4 separate regions of the Homo sapiens genome follow, and all the other regions are linked to region 4. The links are contacts of gene promoters, found by promoter capture Hi-C in human tissues and cell types (Jung and others, 2019). All regions are on one chromosome and are shown on one strand. The core of a region is centred on a gene start or on the middle of the fragment in contact, and the rest is flanking DNA. Distances in the headings are between cores, read along the strand shown.

Region 1 (3,138 bases), core at 171-2,670, 670 kb after region 4:
CCCCTTCTCTAGGGCTCTGCGTGGTGGGGGACGGCACAGGGTCTCGTCCGCATAATCTGCAACACTGAGCTTGCTCACTACCGCCTGGTTCCTGATTCTAGCCACTCGGTGTATGGCCTAGGACTGTGTGTGTTTACTAAGTCATGCTCACACATGTCCGTGTTTATTTCTTCATCTATTTATTTATCTCACAGAAACCACAAGCCCAAACTGATCTGGGCTTCAATCCAGCCCTTCATTTCTAACTTCATCGCTAACAGGGAGAAATCTGCTTCTCATTAGCTACCATGCATGGGCTTATTGATTCCTGTAAGAAGCAAATGCCAAACGCAGCCCACGGTTTGCAGTTCTTTTTGTCTTCAGCCTTACAGTGAACCACAGTCAAACGCCTTTCCCAAGGCCACTGAAAAGAGCTCCTTTCTTCCCAGCCCACAGTGTGGTTCTGCGGTTCATGGGCCGCTGTCTGCATTCCTCCTCCCTTAGCTCCATGCTGGTGCCGTCCAGCGGGCTCTGAGAGAGGCACGGTCAGGTGTCCGCCACCACCGCGCCAGACAGAGCAGCTTCCACACCCACACCCCCTCGGGATGCCTCTCCGGTCACCCTCTACACTCAAACCTTTAGCGACCACGGACGGGTCTCTTCCCTACAGTTCTGCACCTCCCAGGTGTCCGGTAAAAAGAATCAATACCAGCTTTCAAGTCTGGCTTCTGCTGCACAGCAAAATGCACAATGTATGATCCATCATGTCATGTGAGTCAGCAGTAACCCCTCACTGCTAAGCACAATCCCACTGCCTGGTGGCATGACACACAGGCTGGCCATGTCCACTAGGATGTCCTTCCATCACACACAGGCTGTCCCTGTCCACGGAGATGTCCTTCCATCACACACAGGCTGTCCCCGTCCACGGAGATGTCCTTCCATCCACGCACAAGCTGTCCCCGTCCACGGAGATGTCCTTCCATCACACACGGGCTGTCCCCGTCCACGGAGTTGTCCTCCATCCACGCATGGACTGTCCCTGTCCACGGAGATGTCCTTCCATCACGCATGGGCTGTCCCCGTCCACAGAGATGTCCTTCCATCACGCGGGAGCTGTCCCCGTCCACGGAGATGTCCTTCCATCCACGCATGGGCTGTCCCTGTCCACGGAGACATCCTTCTGCCCACTGGCTGAAGGGCACAAGGTTGTTTCCAGCTTCTGGCAGTTATGACAGTGCTGCTGTGAACATTCATATATAGGATTTAGTATGAATCTAAGTTTTCATTTCTCTTGGAGAAATACCTAGGAACAGGACTACTGGGTCATGGGGTAAATACATGTTTACCTTTGTAAGAAATGCCCAAACTGTCTTCCGAAGAGGCTGTATCATTCTCCCTTCACCCTAGCAGTGAAGGGGAGTCTCTGCTGCTCTGGACCCTCCCCAGCCTTTCACGTTGCTGGTATTTCGGCTGTTCTAGCACGGGTGGGTACACGGCATCTCACGGTGGCTTCAACTTGCAGTTCCCTGATGAAAATGGCACTGAGCATCTTCACAGGCTTCCTTGCCATCTGTGGATTATCTCTGGGGTGGTGTCTGTTAATATCTTCTGTCTACTTTAAAAACTGGGTTGTTCTCTTGTTGAATTTTGGGGGTTTCTTATATACTATAGAAACAACTCCTTTATCAAAAGTGTGACATGCAAATATTTCCTTCTAGGCTGTGGCTTGTTTTTTCATTAACAGTATCATTCAGAGAGAAAAACTTTTTTTTTTTGAGACAAGGTCTCGCTCTGTCACCCAGGCTGGAGTGCAGTGGCTCAATCACAGCTCACTGCAGCCTCCAACTCCTCAGCTCAAGCAATCCTTCCACCTTAGCCCCCTGAGCAGCTGGGACTACAGGCACACAGCAACCACCATGCTCAGCTCATTTTTTTCTATGTTTTGTAGAGACACGGTCTCACTATATTGCCCAGACTGGTATTGAGCTTCTGGGCTCAAGTTATCCTCCTGCTTCAGCCTCCCAAAGTGATGGTATTACAGGCATGATAAGCCACTGCACCTGGCCAAAACTTTTAAATTATGGTAAAGTCTAATTTATTATTTTTTTCCTTTAAGGATCATGATTTTGATCTCATGATTAAAAACTCTTTGCTTAACCCAAGGTCATGCATATTTTGTGTGTATTTTCTTCTGAAAGGTTTATAGCTTTACATATAGGTCAAGGGTCCACTTTGGGTGGATTTTCACATGAAGTGTGAGGTGGAGGTTGTGGGTCTGTTGCTCATGGGCGGCGAATTGTCCCAACAGCTGCAGACACAACTCTTCTCCTTCTGATTTCCTCTCATGTTTGCCAAAGATCATCTGACACATGTGATGTATTTCTGGGCTCTCTTTTCTGTTCCACCGATCTTTTTGTCTATCCTTTTGACAATAACACATTGTCTAACTGATTACTGTTTTACAGTAAGTCTTGGAATCAGGTAGTGTGTTTTCCAACTCTGTTATTTTCTTTTTTTTCTTTTCTTTTTTTTTTTTTTTGAGACGGAGTTTCGCTCTGTCGCCCAGGCTGGAGTGCAGTGGCGCGATCTCGACTCACTGCAAGCTCCGCCTCCCGGGTTCACGCCATTCTCCTGCCTCAGCCTCCCGTGTAGCTGGGACTACAGGTGCGCGCCACCATGCACAGCTAATTTTTGTATTTTTAGTAGAGACGGTGTTTCACCGTGTTAGCCAGGATGGTCTCGATCTCCTGACCTCGTGATCCGCCCGTCTCGGCCTCCCAAAGTGCTGGGATTACAGGCGTGAGCCACCGCGCCCGGCCCAACTCTGTTATTTTCTAAATTATTTTGGCAATTCGAGTTCCCTTGCCTTGCCATATAAATTCTAGAGTGAGCTTGTCAATGTGAAGCAATACTGAGGCTCTCAATCCATGAACATCTAATTGAGGCTCAATCCAGGAACATCTGTTTACGCCTCCCAACCCAGGAACATCTGTTTACGCCTCTCATTCCAGGATCATCTGTTTACGCCTCCCAATCCAGGAATATCTGTTTACGTCTCTCAAACCATGAACATCTGCTTACGCCTCTCAATCCAGGAATATGGGTTTATGCCTCTCAATCCATGAACATCTGTTTATGCCTCCGAATCCAGGAACA
Region 2 (3,072 bases), core at 415-2,914, 570 kb after region 4:
CAGGGAGCCGGGGAGCCCCTGGGGGCTGGTGGGGCTGGTCAGTGTGCTTGTGGGGACCTGGGATGGTCACCCAGGGACTATGGTGCTACGTCCAGGAGAGAAGAGACGACGGAGGCAAAGAGAGGGAGAACGGGCGAAGGCTGGTGCCCAGGGTGAGCCTGGGGAACCTGGCCTGCGTTGAGCCATGCTGGAGCAGATGGGGGGTGGAGGGTGCAGCCGAGACACTGGGCAGGGGGTGCAGGAGAGATGTCCACGCTGGGCACAATGCTGAGAGGGGAGCCGGGGCCAATCGAGGCAGGAGTGTGGCTGGTAGGACAGGACGGCCGGCTGCCAGGTGGGGTGTGGACTGGAGGTAGCAGGAGCGGCTCAGCCCCACCGGCTTCATGCTGTGGCCACGGTCCTGGGGGCCGCCACCTCCCACCTGTGAAGGGCAGGCACGCTCCCCGCACGCCCCTTCTGCCTCTGAGATACGTGATCTGTGCTAAAGTCAGTGCTGCTCAAACCCACGGTGGGGACTGCCGCATGCTGAGCAAATAAGAAAAAAATTAATGCACTGCTCTGGAAAGCAATCCTTCTCTATAAGGCCTAGGTTTTCTTTAAAACATTCAATTTCTGGTCAACCATGCTTGAAGTTTAATTAGGACTCAATCATTATATTTTCAGAAAAAGATAAAATATTTTCTTCTGTAAGATATATTGTACTTTGTTCCAAGAATGGGCTGGACTCACTAAGTGTGGGCGGCACAGACCACGTAAACCCCAGGGGGGTCCAGAGCGTGAGGCCCTTCCCCACAATCCCGGGGGTCCCAGAGCGTGAGGCTCTTCCCCACAATCCCGGGGGTCCCAGAGCGTGAGGCTCTTCCCCACAATCCTGGGGGTCCCAGAGCGTGAGGCCCTTCCCCACAATCCCGGGGGTCCCAGAGCATGAGGCTCTTCCCCACAATCCCGGGGGTCCCAGAGCATGAGGCCCTCCCCACAATCCTGGGGGTCACAGAGCGTGAGGCTCTTCCCCGCGAGGGCTGGGCTGGGGGCTGCACATCACCCCTGCAGCTCTGTCTCACAGACACTCTTAGGGTACAGCGACTTTACAGCAAAACCCCATTTTCCACATCTTGAGAGGCCTTTCCAGAGCTTGCCTGATAAAAACAAGGAGTCCCAACAGTTTGGTGTGAACGTGGGGATTCAAGGGCTTCCTTAGGATCTGGTCTATTACAAATGCTGTTTACATTCAGAGAAAATGGAAACCTTCCAAAACACCCTGATTTTACTAAGAGAACGCAGCTGCTTTTGCAATTAGCGCCCAGTGTGTAATTTCCCTCTCAGATGACAGGAATCTCTGCAGTTTTTAGAAAAAAAGCAATATAAAAAGATTATTGATGTTAGCTAAGCTTACCCAAAATACAGTAAAATTCAGGATGACCGCTAACTGTCCCCTCCGAGCTGTGGGGAGTGGCCTGTACCCACAAAATACAGTAAAATTCAGGATGACTGCTAATTCTGTCCTCTCCGAGCTGGGGGGAGTGGCCTGTACCCACAAAGGAAGCCGGGGATGGCGTGGGGGACGCCTTTCTCTTCTACTGGTTCAGGGACTGAAGAAACAAACTGGATGGTATTTTCTTTAAGAAAACACCCTAAAGGTTAAAAAGGTAAGATGATTTTTTTTTTTTTTTGTATGAGTGAAAAGGAGCCATTCCCACGGCGGGTGAGGGGCAGGCAGGTTGAGGAGAAGGTGCCCCAGCCTGGATGCCCGTGGTCCCAGGAGATGAAGTTACCCCTGGAGAAGTGTCTCGGGGACGTCCGCCCAGCACAAAGCTCATTCACCATCCTTAAAGACCACATCAGGACTACAGGCTTAAAAGCAAAGTTTATTCCTAAAGGTGCCTGCAAAATAGCTATACCTATTTGCCTTTTCACCGTAAGCAGCTTTAGGGTGCAAATGCACACCAGGACCCCCTCAGTTTTTTGGAGCAGAAGAGCCATGTTTTCCCCTTGGCTGTTATACATTCGCAAGAAGCAAAATAACCGTGACTATCTGAGTATGCAACCCCCGCCCCCCACCCCCAACAGGGATCAAGGAAAATGCATCCGAAGCTTCCCTTTTCCTTTCCTTTTCAGGGCATCGATGGCTCGGTCTCACTAACGGGACATCACACAGTTAAATGTGCAACACGCCACGCTGCTTTACGGCGACGTCGTTTCTGCGTCTTTAGAAAAAGCACCCCACGCGCTCATGTTCACGGCTTACGGTTAGAAAGATGGCGTTACCGTTGGCGGGAAGGTAGGTGAAACGCTGGTACTGGCTTCGCTTTCTCTTCCCGTTGCAGACGTAGAAACTGACGTGAACGGGGCTGGTTATCCTCTGATTCCGAAATGGCGGGATCTCAACCACCAGAGAATTCTACAGGAGAAGGGCACACAGGAGGCACAATCAGCACCGGGCAGGCGATGGCTGCCGCGCCACGGCGGCCACACGGCAACCCCGCGTTTCCACGGCGGCCACACGGCAACCCCGCGTTTCCACGGCGGCCACACGGCAACCCCGCGTTTCCACGGCAGCACAGGACTGCCGTGACGGTAAACTCCCAAGCAGCCACCTGGGCGGTCCAGAAGCAGCTGATGACAGCCCTGGATGCTCTGTGCCACCTGCACACGCGTGTGGACACGCACGCTCACAGGGAAGGGGCTGCCCTTGGCTTCTTGCACACCCAGGAGCCGAGAGGCTTCCTCAGAGCAGCACAGCAGACAAGACCAACCTAAGACTGAAATCTTGTCAATATGGGGAAAGAAGCCAGGAAAAGAGAAGCTGTAAACAGAACTGGGACCGGGTGCCTGAGGGTGGAGGTTGCCCGGGGCCACCTGGGCAAGGGGACTGGCGGGGATGCAAAAGGCTCTGCCTGCTCTGATGCCAAAGGGTTGGTGACCTTCAGAAAACGACCCAAGGCTCCGCCGCCAGCCACTGTGTGATGGAAGTGCTCGGTGGCCCAGCACCTGCTCAGGTGACTGCAGCGAAACCCAGAGGAGCAGGTGCTTCCTGGAGACGCGGTCTCTGGGGAGGGCCTGTGTTTGTCACAT
Region 3 (3,154 bases), core at 449-2,948, 620 kb after region 4:
CGTGCATTCTCCATCCCAAACTTTGGAGATCATTAAAAATACAGCTTTCTAGTTGTGCAGCCTGAGATCCTGGTGACATTTTCCACGCCTGCCAGAGCTGCTGCATGTGACCGACGGAGAGGCATTCCTGGGGAAGGAAGTCTGGCCTCTCCACCTCGCTGGTAAAAAACTAACATTTCATCTCTGCCGTGGCTTCCAGCTGCCCCAGGGCACCCGCTGACGAGGTCACTTGGAAACAGGGCACAAGGAACCAGGAAACATATTTTGATGTGGAACCAGAACAGTGGGAAAAGGTTAACTGCAAACCCCAGGAGCGAGTTTGGGACATATTTACTGAGCTTTGTTTGTGTGAACACTCAGAAATGTTACAGGCATCACACCTAACTGGGCGCTCTGCAGCCAGGAGATAAAGCTAACAGGGTCACGTGGGCACGGAATTCTTCCTGAAACCCCCAAGCAGAGGAAAAAATAAACAGCCACCCATGCTTTCCAACCTCCACACCAAACACAGGTCCAAGGTGGACAGGAGGGGCTGTGCCTGCCAGAACACGACATCCCTGCGGACACCTTGCCGCCCAGGAGACGAAGAAGGAACCAGGACGAGCTTGCGCTTTCAAAGGCTGCCTGCCATTTTTACTGCGACAGTAAGACCGGGGCTGAGGCAGCCGAACGGTGCTCCCCGCAAACTCACATAATGGAGTCCTGCCCAGCGTGGGGCTGTGTCTGGAGAGAGGGTCTTTACAGAGCGATCAAGTTCAAATGAGGCCACCAGGGTGGCCCCAACCCAGCAGGACCAGTGTCCTCACAAAAGGGGACATCTGGACACAGACATGCACGGTGGATGGAGAGATGAGGAGTCATGGGGAGAAGACGGCGCCTCCAAGCCAGGGAGACAGGTCAGGCAGATGCTCCCTCACAGCCTCCAAAAGAACAGCCCCTGATCTCGGCTTCCAGTCTCAGGACCCCGCGAGAAAACCTTCCTGCTATGAAGGCCACCCGTCTGCGGGACCTTGTCAGGGCAGCCCCAGGAAACAAATACGTGGGGTTCACCCAAAGGTTCACAACTGCATTACGACACTCCTCATGCCAAGTCCCAGTCTTGGGACCTTGATGACATCACTCTTCCCTTATCTCGCCAGTTCAGTGAAGTTCCGCGGTGATGGACGACTTTGTCACCGTCCGTAAGCCTGGAGACCATGAAGCGCGTTGTACATGACTGTGGGCTGGAGAGTCAGTGCCACTACGCTTGTACTTTTACTTAAACAATAACAGTGATAGTACAGCAGGCAAAAACAGTTCTTAAATTTTCCCAATGCCTCCAACTGAATGGGATTTTTATTGTAAATACAATCCGGGTCCTGACACAGGCTCGTTGTGATCACCTAGAATACGCCAGCCTTTTAAACCTTAATGTATTAAAAACAGAAGTTGGGATAGAAAGGTAAATGCGCCCACTGCAAGTCAAGAAAAATCAGGGGTAATCCTTGCTTTCTCTCGAAACCTCAGCTGACGACGATTCTAAGTATCACGCCAGTAGAAAGGCAGAATCAGCCATGGGGCTGCTCAAAGAACTGTCAGCTCTAACACTGTTTCTTTGCCACAAGCCTTCAGAGAGGTTTGGGTGGGTTCGTTCCCAGCCTGGAGGCTTGTTACTGCTTGTAGCTCTAATTCTGTCCATGCGTGCTCCAGCCATGGCTGAAGCATGGCCTGAGACTGCAGAGCAGAGACGGGTCCTCCCAGAGCACCCTCACTGCCTGCCTTCCTCACCCTGCAGGCATGGGGGCTGCACCTGCCCTCCGCTCTGCGGGGTCTCGCCCCCTGAGTGCTCGCTAATAAAAAAGGAGTGGGGGGTGGGGAGGGACGAAAAAAAAAAAAAAACAAAAACAGGAAAACACCCAGCCTGGAATACCCCGGGCTGCGCGTGGCAAACGCCTCTTCCTGAGGACACAGCGGCAGCCCTGACGTCACGGGCCATGGGGCACTGCCCTCGACCTCCTGCACGGACGTTTTCATGCCTCAGATAAAAATCCCAGAGCAGAAAGCACTCTCAGGGGCCACTCACAGCCCACCAGCTGGGAAAGCTGTTTCGTTAGAGATAAAAACACCAAGCTGGTTAAGTGGACCCAGCGGAATTCCAGCAGCCCCTCACACGGTTAAAAAGAAAAACCAACAACCTGGGACCCAAAGAAGGAAGGCGCGTGAGCTCCCCCAGCCTGATGCCACAGCCGGCGTCTCTGGGGAGCAGGAGGCCGTGCTGTTCCAAAGCGTGGCGGACTGGGTGCTCTGGGGCACTGTTGAGCTGCGGTCCCATCTGCACCCGAGGCAGGGAAGGCAATTACTGCAGGGGAGGAAGCGGGAGCAGCAGGCAACCACCGAGGGGGGCCAGGCACGTGCAATTCCCCGAGGAAGAAACTGCGCGTGTGTGAGCCCTCCTTAGGGGCGGATGGCGTCTCCCGGAATTCCCACGTGGAAGCCCTGACCGCCAGCAGGGCCACCCTCTTTGAAATGGGTGTTTGCAGAGACTGAGCGAACACGAGGCCATCAGCAGGGCCCGAGAGGATCTGGAGACTTCAGATGGGAAACGCGCAGACGGAGGCAGAGGCGAGGCGCACAAGGAAAAGTCTGCATGAGGAGGCAGACATGGGGACAGACTCTGCCTCCCAGCTCCACGAGGAGCCCACCTGCCCACCCAGGTCCTGACTCTCGTCCCCAGACACGGCCGCCCCGCGCCGCCCCCCGTCCCGCTCCCCGCGTTCCGCCCCGCCCCGCGCCTCCCCTCGCCTCCCCGTCCCGCCCCGCGCTGCCGGCTCACCTCATGTAGGACGTAGGGGACAGGGGCTTGGGCTTCGCCCACTGGTAGGGGTGCTGCGGCACCGCCAGGTACTGGTCGCAGAAGCCGCCCTTCCTGATGTGCTGGAAAGAGGAGTAGTCTTCGGGCGCGAAGTCGGCCGGGGGCGGGGGGCTGCCCAGGTCCTCCCCGACGGGCTCCACCTTGAGCGCCACTGAGGGCGGCTGCTCCAGGGTGGTCTTGCGGGACTTGACAGGGACGCCATCTCCCAGGTCCAGGCTGCTGTCGGTGGTCAGCGCGTTGATGGCGGCCACGATGGCCGAGCTGGTGTACTGGGTGGTGTTGCCCAACCACGAGTCGTCGGTC
Region 4 (3,461 bases), core at 544-3,043:
AGGCTAGAATGATCCACACAGTACGTCTGGAGTTGGAGACAGATGGCTATACACGGAAATGTTTATAGGTGCATATTTACACAAGGGTTAGTAGAAACACATATATCCTTTCGTCAGATGAGATGGCCCAAAAGACAGACACCCCAGAAGCAATGAACACACCCAGCACCCATGGTTTCTAATCTCTCTCTCCAATAAAAGGAACGAGGGCTTCTTGGAGAAATGGCTGATTTTAGGGCTGTGGTACGAAACACACAAGATGAGCCTGGAGTATCTTGTAGTGCCAGAAAGTAGGAAAGTGTTTAACACACACAGAACCCAGCAAAACCCCACAATGACAGGGTATGCAAACAGGACATAGGAGCTTAGTGAGCTCCTAAGGGCCTGAGCTGGAAACATTCGAACAAAACTAAGTAACACGGGATTATAACCCATGAGTTCTTGGTGATATGAATGAATTAATACATGGGGTGAAGAGACATATCCCTTGTGCAGAATGCAAACCACTTATGAGCAAAATTCCCCACTCATTAGGCATGGGCTGCACACAGCGACTTTCTCCCAGAGTACAGTAAGGAAAGGGGGCAAAAAGAGTAACTTTACGGTAGAGAAACCTGGCAAGCACCTCATGCAGGGGATCACGGCCAGCGTGGACCCTGGATACGGTGCGATGAGAATGGCCTTTACCTCTGTAGTCTTCCTCCCCAAAAGCCATAATCCACGTCTAAGCATTAAAAAAACAGGCACATTCCAACAGAGAGGCATCCTGCAAAGCACCTGACCAGTACCCCTCAAAACTGGCACAGCCATCAAAACCAGGGACAGTCTGGGACACTACCCCAGCCTAAGGAAACAAGACAATTCAATGTAACGTGGACCTTGGGTGGGCACCTGGGACAGGAAGGGACAGCAGGCAGAACCAAGGAAAAGTGAATAAAGTATGAGCTTCAGTTAGCAACACTCTTATCAATATCGGCTCATTAACTGGAACACGTTGGAAGCTAAAGTCCGACGCTAACACAGGGGGAGCTGGGTGCCAGGACACAGGAACGCGGTACTATTTTTGCAATTTTTCTGCAGGGTCTAAAACTGTCTTTAAAAGTAGTGTATTAAAGTAGAAAACATACAACCACCTACCATACTTAGAAGAACTAAAAGCAGTGTGAAAAGTCAATGTATTTTATTGTACTTATCTTTCATAATTTAAAAACACTAATTATCATGACAAGCTTTAGTCTTCAAATTCACACAGAAAGTCAACATTAGCAAGGAAATTCTTATATTTTTTCATTTTTCCTCATTTTCTGAAACTAATCTTCTGAAAAATACGTCTGGTGACAAGAATCAAAATAAACACACATTGTCACTTTGTTTTCTTAACCCGACACACGTCCACGAACACAAAAGCTGCAAATGCTGACAGTGAGAGCTAGAACTGCTGCAGACCCCAGGAGGCAGGAACTGGCGAGCTAGGCCGCATGGGCGCAAGAACGCGGATGAGCGGACACCGCAACCCGGGGACACCGCCCCCTAGGGAATACCGCGCCCAGGGACACCGCCCCCGCCGCATTACTTGGTTTTCGAGGCAAATTTCTTGAGCCAGTTCTTGCAGGAGACAGCAGAGCAGTGAAGTCCCCGCTCGCAGCCTGGAAATAGCGCAGCATCGCGGCTACGGAACAGGGCCCGGAGACCCGCGCGGGAGCGCCACAGCCCGCCCGCCGCAGCCCACATGGCGCGGCGCCGGGACCCGGAGCGAGCAGGGAGACAACGGGCGCAGGCGCGGAGCGACAACTGACGCGAGGGTGGCGGCGTGTGGGCGGGGCGACGGCGCAGAGCGGGAGGAAGACTCACGCCTGGCAGGCGGCGTGTGGGCGGGGCGATGATGCAGGGCGGGGCGATGATGCAGGGCGGGGCGAGGACAGACGCGAAGCTGACGGCGTGTGGGCGGGGCCACGGCGCGGGGCGGGACGAAGACGGGGTGCAAGGCGGGCGGGGCAACGACGGCGGAGGGGCGAAGGCCCGAGGGGGGCGGTAGGTGGGCGGGGCGAGGACAGACGCGAAGCTGACGGCGTGTGGACGGGGCGACGGCGAGGGACGGGGCAAAGACTGGACGCAAGAAGGGGCGGGGCGACAACGGCGGAGGGGCGAAGGCGCGAGGCGAACGGCGAGTGGGCGGGGTGAAGACCGACGCGAAGCGGGCGGTGGTTGGGCGGGGCGAAGACTGACGCGAGGCGGGCGGTGAATGGGCGGGGCGAAGACTGGCGCGAGGTGGGCGGTGGGTGGGCAGGGCGAAGACTGAAGCGAGAAGGGCAGCGCGAGGTGGGCGACTACCAGAGCGAAGCGAGCGGCGTGTAAGCGGGGTGAAGACAACGCCAGGTGGGCAGTGTGCGGGCGGGGGGGGCGGCAACGGGGGCGGGGCGAAGGACGACGCGAGGCGGGGCCGGCGGGAGCTGGGCGTGGGGAGGCCGCGTGGGCTGCGCGGAGGGTGTGCCACTCGGGGAAGCGTGGGAACCGCCTGGTTGCCTGGCGCTGCGTAGCTAGGAACACGTTTTGTTTAAATACTGGGAACTGACGTAGGCGGGTGCGCCGCACAAAGCAACGAAGGCATCGAAGCCTGGAGACCTGGGCAGGGCCGCTGTCGGCGGGAGGCTGCGAGGGGTCCGTCTGTTTCCGCCACTGGGCCCTCCAGGGCTTTGCTGCTGCGCCGCCTTCTCCCCGGGCACCTAGAGAAAGTCCCCAGATTGGGCGTCCTCCCCAGAAGTGGTCTCGCCCCGCCCGCCTCCCCAGAGTCAGCGTGGCCCAGCGGGGAAGCTGCTCCCCCCGGGCGTGGAAAGAGAAGTGAGCGCGACCGCAGTGTTGGGGATGCGTGGGCTGTGACTCCCCCGAGGCGGCTGCTGTGGTGTGAGACACGTCTGTGTGTGTGTGTGTGTGTGGGCGCGTGTGGATGTGTACATGTGTATGTGTGCATATGTACGTGTGTGTGCATGTGTGTGGACATGTATATGTGTGCATGTGCGTGCGCGTATATATGTGTGTGTGTATGCGTATGTATGTGTGTATATATTGTCAATCGAAGAAAACGACGAGACAAGTCTCTAATCATTTTAGGAGATTTATTTGCCAAAGTTAAGGACGCACCCAGGAGACAGGTCTACGCCTTTCTCCAAAAATGATTTTGAGGGCCCCAGATTTAAAGGGGAAAGGGCGGAGTATTGAGAAGCAGAGTTTTCACAAACAAACGGGCAGAGGAAAAACGTGGGGAATCTGCATTTTACATAAGATAACGCAGACAAAATGTGGTAGGGGAACAATCAGATGGGCTAGGGTGACTGCACCTGTAAAGATAAGCTATCAATTTGCATTGCCATGGTTAAGTTTTATTTTTTTGAAATGGAATCTCTCTCTGCCGCCCAGGCTGGAGGGCACTGGCGTGATCCCGGCTCACTGCAACCTCCACCTTC

Evidence for each region. The method cuts DNA at HindIII sites, captures the fragments that hold promoters and counts their contacts. A contact is called where the count stands out against the background at its distance.
Region 1: a contact is called between a fragment that was not itself captured here and the fragment with the promoter of RBFA in region 4, in 2 of the 25 tissues and cell types used here (heart left ventricle and lymphoblastoid cells).
Region 2: a contact is called between a fragment that was not itself captured here and the fragment with the promoter of RBFA in region 4, in 1 of the 25 tissues and cell types used here (lymphoblastoid cells).
Region 3: a contact is called between a fragment that was not itself captured here and the fragment with the promoter of RBFA in region 4, in 1 of the 25 tissues and cell types used here (dorsolateral prefrontal cortex).

What each region holds. Positions count from the first base shown.
Region 1 is chr18:79,363,649-79,366,786 of GRCh38, reverse strand. All of the region lies in intron 26 of ATP9B (ATPase phospholipid transporting 9B (putative)), which reads right to left. Among named protein-coding and RNA genes, the nearest start is that of NFATC1, 31 kb to the left of the region's middle. The HindIII fragment of the contact is 8,130 bases long and covers 1-3,138 here.
Region 2 is chr18:79,466,776-79,469,847 of GRCh38, reverse strand. It overlaps NFATC1 (nuclear factor of activated T cells 1), which reads right to left. Exons shown (of 10, transcript NM_001278669.2): 8 at 2,266-2,398. LOC107985162 (a long non-coding RNA gene) reads left to right here. Exons shown (of 2, transcript XR_001753518.2): 2 at 1-529. Among named protein-coding and RNA genes, the nearest start is that of NFATC1, 72 kb to the right of the region's middle. The HindIII fragment of the contact is 4,601 bases long and covers 1-3,072 here.
Region 3 is chr18:79,411,160-79,414,313 of GRCh38, reverse strand. NFATC1 (nuclear factor of activated T cells 1) reads right to left here. Exons shown (of 10, transcript NM_001278669.2): 2 at 2,813-3,154. Among named protein-coding and RNA genes, the nearest start is that of NFATC1, 17 kb to the right of the region's middle. RefSeq lists an enhancer at 2,634-3,149. The HindIII fragment of the contact is 4,795 bases long and covers 1-3,154 here.
Region 4 is chr18:80,032,766-80,036,226 of GRCh38, reverse strand. It overlaps RBFA (ribosome binding factor A), which reads right to left and starts at 1,793. Exons shown (of 7, transcript NM_024805.3): 1 at 1,574-1,793. The coding sequence starts at 1,731. It also overlaps a transcript of TXNL4A not described here. RefSeq lists silencers at 1,598-1,747, 1,858-1,937, 1,948-2,267, 2,150-2,306, 2,338-2,507. The HindIII fragment of the contact is 12,317 bases long and covers 1-3,461 here.